2 separate regions of the Homo sapiens genome follow, and region 2 is linked to region 1. Evidence: promoter capture Hi-C in human tissues and cell types (Jung and others, 2019). All regions are on one chromosome and are shown on one strand. The core of a region is centred on a gene start or on the middle of the fragment in contact, and the rest is flanking DNA. Distances in the headings are between cores, read along the strand shown. Region 1 holds the start of KCTD18 (potassium channel tetramerization domain containing 18). Region 2 overlaps LOC124906112 (a long non-coding RNA gene).

The links. Contacts are between HindIII fragments. The study calls those that stand out against the background at their distance.
Region 2: a contact is called between a fragment that was not itself captured here and the fragment with the promoter of KCTD18 in region 1, in 3 of the 25 tissues and cell types used here (dorsolateral prefrontal cortex, liver and mesenchymal stem cells).

The regions. Positions count from the first base shown.
Region 1 is chr2:200,507,736-200,512,357 of GRCh38, forward strand. KCTD18 (potassium channel tetramerization domain containing 18) reads right to left here and starts at 2,333. Exons shown (of 7, transcript NM_152387.4): 1 at 1,893-2,333. RefSeq lists a silencer at 2,106-2,565. The HindIII fragment of the contact is 9,187 bases long and covers 1-4,622 here.
Region 2 is chr2:199,991,554-199,996,175 of GRCh38, forward strand. The region is part of intron 2 of LOC124906112 (a long non-coding RNA gene); the gene reads right to left. Among named protein-coding and RNA genes, the nearest start is that of MAIP1, 38 kb to the left of the region's middle. The HindIII fragment of the contact is 6,803 bases long and covers 1-4,622 here.

The DNA.
Region 1 (4,622 bases), core at 1,083-3,582:
ATAAAGGAGCAGGAATTATTAACAATGATAACTATAATTCTTAAGTTAGGTAACTAAGGAATATATAATTTATCAACTGAGATTATAATTCTTCTTTTAATTTTTTTAAATTTTTAAAAAATGAGACAGGGTCTCGCTGTGTTGCCCAGGCTAGTCTTGAACTCCTGGGCTCAAGCAATCCTCCTGTCTTGGCCTTCCGAAGTGCTGAGTATACAGGCATGAGCCACCACGCCCAGCCTGAGATCAGAATTCTATGTAGACCAGTAGCCAGGCCAGTCTAGAACTACAAATAACACCTCCAAATCATCCAGCTTCTTCACTGTGAAATGGATGAAGCTTTAGGGAAGTTTTGGGGGGTTTTTGTTTGTTTGCTTGTTTGTTTTTTGAGATGGAGTCTCGCTCTGTAGCCCAGGGTGGAGTACAGTGGCGCCATCTCGGCTCACTCCCGGGTTCAAGCAATTCTCCTGCCTCAGCCTCCTGAGTAGCTGGGACCACAGGTATACACCATCATGCCGGGCTAATTCTTGTAATTTTAGTAGAGACGGCGTTTCACCATATTGGGCAGTCTGGTCTCCAACTCCTGACCTCAGGTGATCCACCCACCTCGGCCTCCCAAAGTGCTGAGATTACAGGCGTGAGCCACTGCACCAGGCCCAGGGAAGGTTTAAGGGTTGGATTTTTTTAATCCATTCTGGAGATCACAGAACCACAAGTGACACTGTGGTGTTTTCCCACCTAAAACAATACTGTGATGAAAAAGGTACTCCCAATTATTGAGAATCTGCAGTATCCACACATTTCATAGCAAGTTGAAAATGGCTGCCAAAAGGCTCAACTACATCCATGTCAATTCACTTTTACTCAGTGAACAACTAAGATCGTTTTGTAGATGCCAGCTAGTCTCCAATAAAATGGAAGGAGACCATTAAAATCTGAGGAAGACCATGTGTGTAGAATACGGTCAGCAACAGAAACCATTATGGGCCAAAGGTCCAGCCTTCCAAAACCACTTATGGATGTGACATCTCGCACTGCCTAGAAGTCCTGGGAGCAGCACTCCAAAGATCCATGTGTGAGAGCCACCTCTGAGGCATGGGATGGAACTTGTTCCCTCTGCCTCATTACTGGCTCCCTGGAATCCTATCTATTCTTCAAGGCCTTCAGCAAACCTAATTTCTTGCATGACCGTCCCACGTATCCTTCTGCCCCCCAAGTTAGAATCCTTGCACAATTCTACAAATATACTGTGTGTCTGTCCACTTTTTACCCCACTTGTTTAATCCCTACTTTTTGGTCTGTAGGCCAAGGAAGCCAGGGCCTGTGTCACTCTTAATAACTCCCATTTACTGAATGCTTATTATGTGCCAGCCATTGTAAGAGACACTTGACACACTTTACCTAATTCACACAAAAACTCTATTGGATGGGAATTACTGTCCCTGTTGACAGATGAGGCCATTGGGGTAAAAAAAAAGAGTGATGTGTACAGGGGCCACACAAGGACTGACTGCTAGTAGGTTGTGGAGCCAGCCCCAATCCAGAACGGCAGGACGAACCCCAAGTTCTTCCTGCTTCACCCCACACCGCCTCCTCCAGCACTGTTTCACCCCTATGGATCCTGACCCAGCCCTTTCACTCTCTAAGCATCTGTCCATCTCAAGACTTGGCTACGATAACACAGCAGCACCCCGATCCCGAGGATTTAAGAGCTACTCCTCCTACCCCAACCCCAGGCAGTCTCTCCTAAGGATAGGAACATCATCATTCCAAGGCCACACCAGGGGGGCACTCCGCAGGCCCCATCCTCAAAAGCACCCAGTTAGGCTCCCTGCTATGTGGAAAGTGTCCAGCCCTCGGGGACAATGTCCCCCAGAGTGCATTCCTATGATCACCTGCATCAAAACCATCAGGGACGCTTGGGAAAACGAAGACACTCCGGCCACAGCACACAGTTCCTCAGAAAGTCTGAGGAGGGGTCGGGATCTGCCCGCGAACCCCACTTTGAAAAACATCGCTCAAGGGGCTCACACTCCTCTTCCGAAGCGGGAAGAGCCGGGAGGAGCTGGGGAGCCAGAAAGCCCCGCCACGGTCTTCCGCGGCCTGGAGACCCCAAATCGGCCCGAAGCCCGAGCCTGCAGCCCGGGGCGCGCGCGTTACCAGCGCGGCCCGTGCCCTTCCTCAGGGCGCCCCGCCGCCTTCCGGGCCCGCGGCCCATCCCGCGCCCGGCTCTTCCGCACCGGGGGGGTGGGGCGGGTCGGCAGCTTCCCAGACTGACCTGCGGCCCGCCAGACCCTCGGCGCGGCCGCCGGACGCCGCGGGGCGGACGCGGAAGTGAACGCCTTCTCAGCTGCTCGGCAACTCGGGAGCAGAGCGGCCCCAGCGGCGCCCCCGTGCGGCCCGGCTCTGAGGCAGCGGCTCAGGGAGGGAGGGAGGCCACGTCCCGGGCACGCCACGCCACGCCACGCCCCGCCCCCAGATTCGTCTCGCCCCAGTGGGCCGCCTCGGAGTCGGGTGGGTCTTCCATCCCGGAGGTAAGGGAAACACACGGTAGAGAAGGCCAGGGCTGAACCCCAAGGGACGGTCTTGTGTGTTCAGAGGCTGGTTTTACAGGTGAAGAGAAGAAACAGCCGCAGAAGTTGCGATTGTCCAAGGTCACTTAATAAGTGGCAAGAATTAGGATGTTAAGTGTTCTCACCCCCAGGTCAGTGCCCATCCCTCCAAACAGGGCTGCTCAGTGCCAACGTGTGTTAATATATTGCACTTGGATAAGTCTATCTGGATAGTGTCTGCAGCTTACAAAGCTTTTTCACACACAGCATTCTTGTTTAGTCTGTGTGACAGTGATATAAAGGGTGATATTTATTTCCCATTATAGCAAGGAAAATTGAGGCGAGAGCAAACATTTATTCAACACTTTTGTACACCTGACACTGTGCTAAGTGCTTTGCATGCACTACTTAATTTCCTGTTAACGATAACCCTAAAACAGTTCTTCCAGTTTCTAGCACCATCTTACCTTGTGCAAGGTACTGTGCTAGATATTTCAAGAGAAATATAACAGTCCTGTTTTCAAGGTGCTTCCCCAAAATCAAAAATATTTGGTTCCAAATTTCCCTGACTGGCTCTTAGAAGAGAATAAGCCAAAGAGAGGTAAGTCAACCTATCCCCTTAGATATTAACAGTCTTAGGAGAGAGGGAAGGTTTGTTCAACCTGTAATTATTAAGCACTAGCTATGGAGCAAGCACTGAGAGTAAAGGACTGGAAGAGACAAATAATGGGCGTTCAACCTTACTTTCCAGTACAACATGCAGAAAACTTGTTCTGTAAATATTTTAGGCTTTGTGGGCCATGCACAACTACTCAACTCAGCAGTTGTAGTCTAAAAGAAGGCATAGGCAAAACCTGAACAAATGAGCATTGCTAGTTCCAACTTTATGGACACTGAAATTCCAATTTCACATAATTTTCATGTGTCAAAAAATATTCTTTTAAAAATGCAGCTTTTTCAAACACTTAAATATGTACAAGCCATTCTTAGATCATGGGCCAGACAAAAACAAATGGTGGTCCATGGGCCATAGTTTGCCTGCCCTTGTTCAAGTGGGAGAAACAGACACTAAGCAAAGTGGTGACAGAGAGTGATAACTAGGTGCGAGGAAATGAGTGGACATTTAAGTTGAGGGCTAGGAGTCAGAATGAGTCCACCTTCTGCAGAGATGGAGGAAGGGTATTTTAGGAAGAAGGGAGAGCAAGTCGGAAGCCCCTCAGGCAGGAAAGGACTCAGCAATTTGTAGGAAGAGAAAGGCCACTAGTATGTCTGAGCCTTGGTGGGCATCAGGACAAAGGGGAAGATGAGATGGGATGAGGTTGAAGAGAGAGGCAAGAGCCCAGACTCTAAAGTATTGTGTGGCCATGGTAGAAATTTAATTTGACTGTAAGCATAATGAGAAGCTATTGAAAGGTTTTAAGCAGGGAAGTGACACAATTGATTTACTATTAAAAAAAAATAATCACTGCAGCTACTGAGATGAGAATGGATTGGAAAGGTGTGAGATGGAAGTAGATGACTATTGCAATAATCCAGGGGAGAAATGTCTTAGTTCCTCCTTGAGTAGTGTTGGCAATAAAGAGAAGTGGATGGATGCAAGAGGGGTACTCAGGAGATAGACATGACATAAAATTTGTTGGTGGATCAAATACAATGTGTTAATATGGATCCCCTGAGAAGCAAACAATATTATCAGATTAGACATGTGAGAGATTTATTGAAGGGAACACCTGTGAGGTAATAACAGGGAAGCATCTGAGGGGAATTAGGAAAGACATTAGACAGTTTCAACCCTTGTGGAGAACAGGAAAGGAAAAGTAGGAAAAGTTGTAGATATGATACAGTTCTGAGAAAGTTTCAGCACAGCCAGTGGAAAGCCTTCAAGCCAAAGTCCCCCATATCAGAAGAGTTCTGTGTCTCCCAGGAATGGGCCTGCCTTAAATCCCTCTGCTCAGTCACTGGCTGGGAGCAGTCAGTGGGCAGTGCAGCCTGGTGATAAATTTCAAAGGACAGCAGCTGAGGCATCAGTCAACAATGCTCCCTGCAATTGGAGATCTGAGAAGTGCATTTTCA
Region 2 (4,622 bases), core at 1,345-3,844, 520 kb before region 1:
TTCAAATTCCAGCCTCAAGTGATTCCCCTGCCTTGGCCTCCCAAAGTGTTGGGATTACAGGTGTGAGCCACTGAGCCCAGCCCAAAAGGACTGCTAAGATATTTAATATTAAAATTTAAAGTTGTTTATTTCCTAGTGTTGTGGTATAGACACTATGGCCCCTGGCTGCCTCTTTGTCCCCAGCAATGCTCCAACACTTGAAGAAAGACTGGTCTATACTCAAATGTCTGATCGGTGATATCTGGGGCCAATAAAAAAGAGAAAGACTCATCTGGGTCATGTTGGAGCAGAAAGCTAAGAACAGCTGCATGAGATGAGATGTGAATGAGACTGAAAATTTACAGGGGCAGCAAATTAAAACCACAAGTGCTCATGAGAGTTTAAGACACCAGGCATTCACAAACATCCTGAGGAGGGTATTGCACTTTTGCAGGAAAGGGAGTTCTTCTCAACTATATGTAAATAGCAAAGAACGGGTACCTCTGCTGATCATCTGAGTTGCTTAACATTCAAATGACTGTGAAGGTAGGCCCAGACATCTCAAGAATCCACATGCTACTTCATATGTGGAGAACATTTGAGCCATTCATTCATTATTCAATAAGTATAGAGCCACTTCTACATACCAGACCTAGCAAGATATGATGGCAAACAAGATGGCCACAGTCCCTGACTTCATGGAGTTTACATTAGTGAGGGGGGAGTAGGGAGAAAAATGGGGAGAGATGATAAACATTTAAATACATAAATGGTCAGAATAATGATGGATTTTATGCAATATTAAAAATGGGGTGACGTAATAAAAAATACCAAAGTGGGTCATTTTAGGTAGAGTAGTCACTGAGGTCTCTTGAGGAAGTGACTCTTAAGGCCTAAAGACTTAGAAAGAATCCTCCACACAGCAAGCAAAGGGAAAAACACTCCGGGCAGAAGCCATAGCAGGCACAAAGGCCCTGAGGCAGAAAGAGACTGGAAAATCTCTGGAATCCATGGAAGGCCAATGACTAAAGACTAAAACTTCACGAGAAGGTTGGGAAGGGTCATGAGATGAGGTTTAAGGGTTAGACCATGGCCAGTAAAGGCTCTGAAGGCCAAGAAATGAAGTTTGGATGTCCTTTTAAGCCCAATGGGAAGACTAAAGAATTTTAAGCAAACCAATGACATCATCTGGTCCAAAGAATTCCCTGGATTGTCAGTATGGAGATGGTTGGAGGTCTTGACTAGAACAGTTTCAGCAGAGCAAAGGGAATGGAAACTGGATTGGATTGTGCTGTGGAGTGAATAGGAGTGAGAAGGTGGAGACAGTGTGCTCACAATCCTTCTAAGAGGTTTTGAGAAATGGGATAGCGGTTGGAGGGTAACGTGGGGTCAGGAGAGGGTCTTTATTTTTGTTTTGGTGTTTTCCTAAATGGGAAATAATACAGTATGTTTACATATGATGTCAGGAGTGATTCAGTCCAGAGGGAAGCAATGAAAAAGGAGAAGGTATAACTAGGGAGACAGCATGAAGGACTGAGACTTGAGCCCAAGCAGAGTTGCCTTTGGGAGCACCTCCTGCTCTGGTGGGAGGAAGAAGAAGATAGGCAGATGTAGGTCTTACCACATTTGTTTTACTGAGGAAGCAAGATTTCTTTCCGCCACTGCAAGGCTTCCAATGTTAACTGAACTCGGCGCAGCCGGGCTGCTCTGTGCCTGCTGATGTGATTGGCCAAGAGACTGATGAGAAGGGAATGAGAGGGTTTGAGCTGTAAACAGAAGCCACAGCCAAGAAGGAAAGTTCGGGTCTCTCCATTTAATTCCCCCATCCTGTTCTGATCCAGAGAAGATTTTGGTCATTTTCAATTCAGTAGTTTAGACTTTCATGGAGTGGTCCAGAGGGCCCTCAGGCTCAGAGGACAATGAGGCTTGAGGACAGCATGTATCTACAACTGTGGATAGACTGACACCCTGGACTGGCCAAGCCCAGGTCATCTGGGCTGAGGTAGCATTTAGCTAGCAAGCAATTTTTTGTGGTAAGAGAAATTAAAGACTTCCTCCATAAGTCTCTCTGTGGAAGGGGGAAATTGACGAGGGTCAGGCAGCTGTTAAAGGACATCCTGTAACTGCTGAGAACAGAATTGGATAAGGGTAGGGTTCTACCAGAGAGTCAGGAACAGCAAGAGAAGGGAAAGTAGAGAAGGGGACTGGGGGTGGGCAAGGATTCTTAGATATAAGGTTTTAATGACACGTCCTACTTGTGATTCAGTGTTCCCAGCAGAGGAGATGGAAGGAAATTATAGCTTGTGTGCCTGAAGGGCTGGAACTGAACTAGGATTTTATGCATATGATATTACTTAAGCCTCACAGAAATCCTGTGAGGTAGTTTTCTCCCCCTTTAATTTTACAGGTAGGCAAATGGAGGCTCAGAAAGTTAATGTGCTTAAAACTACATAACTAGTAAATAGCAGATGCAGAATTTTAGCCTGGATCTGCCTGACTCCAAATCCCATGGATTGGCCAGAATGGTGTTCTCCCTTCCTGGGCCTCCGGCGAGTGGTAACAGGTCAAAAAACAGATCAACTAGAAAGTTCTTCTGGTAAAATAGTGGGTGAGGCAAGTTAGTGCTAGGATTTGGCTGGAGTGATGGCTTTGCTGCCTCTTCAAGGAATTCACAATGCCATCTTTTCTTCCCTAGACTGTTGTGTGACAGCATTCCAAAGACTTTCCTCAATGGACACCACAGAAGTCCTTGAGTTTGAGGGGCTTCAGGAAGGAAGAGAACAGAATCTCATAGGGAAGACTCCTCTATGAAAAAAAGACCCCTTAAAGTCTGCTTTCCCCCATCATTTCAACATCCTCTCCCTCCCCAACTTTACCATATTGGGCTGAGAGGCTTTAAAACCACACTTCCACCCAGCTGGGCTGGGTTAAAGCCCTCACAGGAGCCACTGAGCCAAACCAAACTTCATGTGCATTACCCATGCAGAGCACATCCTCCAGTGTTTACATGTTGAATAGTTTATGATTTGCTCTACATCTGATCAGGCAGAGTCAACTACCAAAACTGCTGATCCATGGAACTTCACAGCCTTTCCGGGCATAATAACGGCTACAGCTACAGCTTATTCAAAGAGAGAAATAGCCTTTGATGAGCTGTGCAAGGACAAATTAAGACGTGACTGTCACCCAGCATCTAGATAGTAGCCTGCTGTTCCAGGCTTTACCCAAAAAGAAATGGGACTAAGGGAGCTGGGAGGCTTCGACCACACCCTCCTAATAGCAGTGGAAGGACCAGGACCTAAAGATGACCATACCACCAAGGATTTCAGAGCATCAGAAGCGAAACAGCATGTTGCTAAGGCAATTCTTTCTGTCATCTCTGCTCTTCCAACCTGTGGCAAAGCCAGATAATTGTCCCTAAGTTCCCATTATCTACTTCTTTAGTAATAGAAACCCTAATATTTAGCTAGGAATGTCCGGGGTGGGGGGTGGATTCTCCTTGGCTGAAATAAACTCTGTATTTCCCAGCCTCTTCCAGTTGGGTGTGGTCATGTATCTAAGTTCTAGACAATGAGATGAAAATAGAACTGCCATGTAAAATTTCTGAGAAATGGCCTTAAGAGGTATTAAATCAAGGTTAGCCTAAGGGTGCCTCCTTACATATTTTAAGTTCAGCCTAAAAGTTTCTCTGTACATCGTGAACTGTACTCTAAATGAAGTTGTAAACAGAATGTAACCTACTCTTGTGCCAATCACCAAGTTTTGGCCAATCAAAGGTGGTCAGCTGTTCAAACCATGTTCAAATAAGGCAAACTCTGAGCTGTAACCAATCTGGCTGTTTCTGTACTTCTATTTTCTGTAAATCACTTTCCTTTTTCTGTCTATAAATCTTCTCCACCATGTGGCTGCACTGCACTGGAGTCTCTGAGCCTACTCTGGCTCAGGAGTCTGCCCAATTCAGGAACTGTTCTTTGCTCAATTAAATTCTTTTAAATTTAATTTGGCTGAAGTTTTTCTTTTAACAAGGGAGAGGTGTATATTTCGCTCTTCTTTCCCACTGGCTGGAATGTGGAAGTGATGACTGGAGCTTCAGCAACTACCTTGAACAGTGAGGTGGAAATTATTATTCAGAATAGATGGAAAATACTATTCAGATACAGGGAGCCTGGATCCTTAGAGATTGTAGCATCATGATTGCAGCCTGAACTGCCACTATAAGCCATTTATATCTTTTGGCACTCACTGTCAACTCTAATCTATCTTATATACAACCTCTACCTTAGGCACCTCCACATGTCCCTAATGACCCCTGGAAAGCCACGTCTCACTAAAACATCCTTACCAAGACAGGGAGAGGCAACAACCTTTGCATTGTGAGGAGCAGTGATTTCGGGCACTGAGAAGCTGTGCTGCCTTTAAACAACTCTATACCATCATCAGCTGGTGTGGGAAAGCCCACGCAATCCCATTTCTCCAGCTCAGTGATGTTCAGGTTTCTACTGTGCGTAGTTCTTTGGTCAAACTTTACATGGACATTTCCAAAGGCCTGCAGGACATCTCCACACAGGTTTCTCACCAGCTCCTCCAACTTGACTTATCTAAACCCAAATTTCTTCATTCTCTCTCTCAGAACAGCCCTTAGG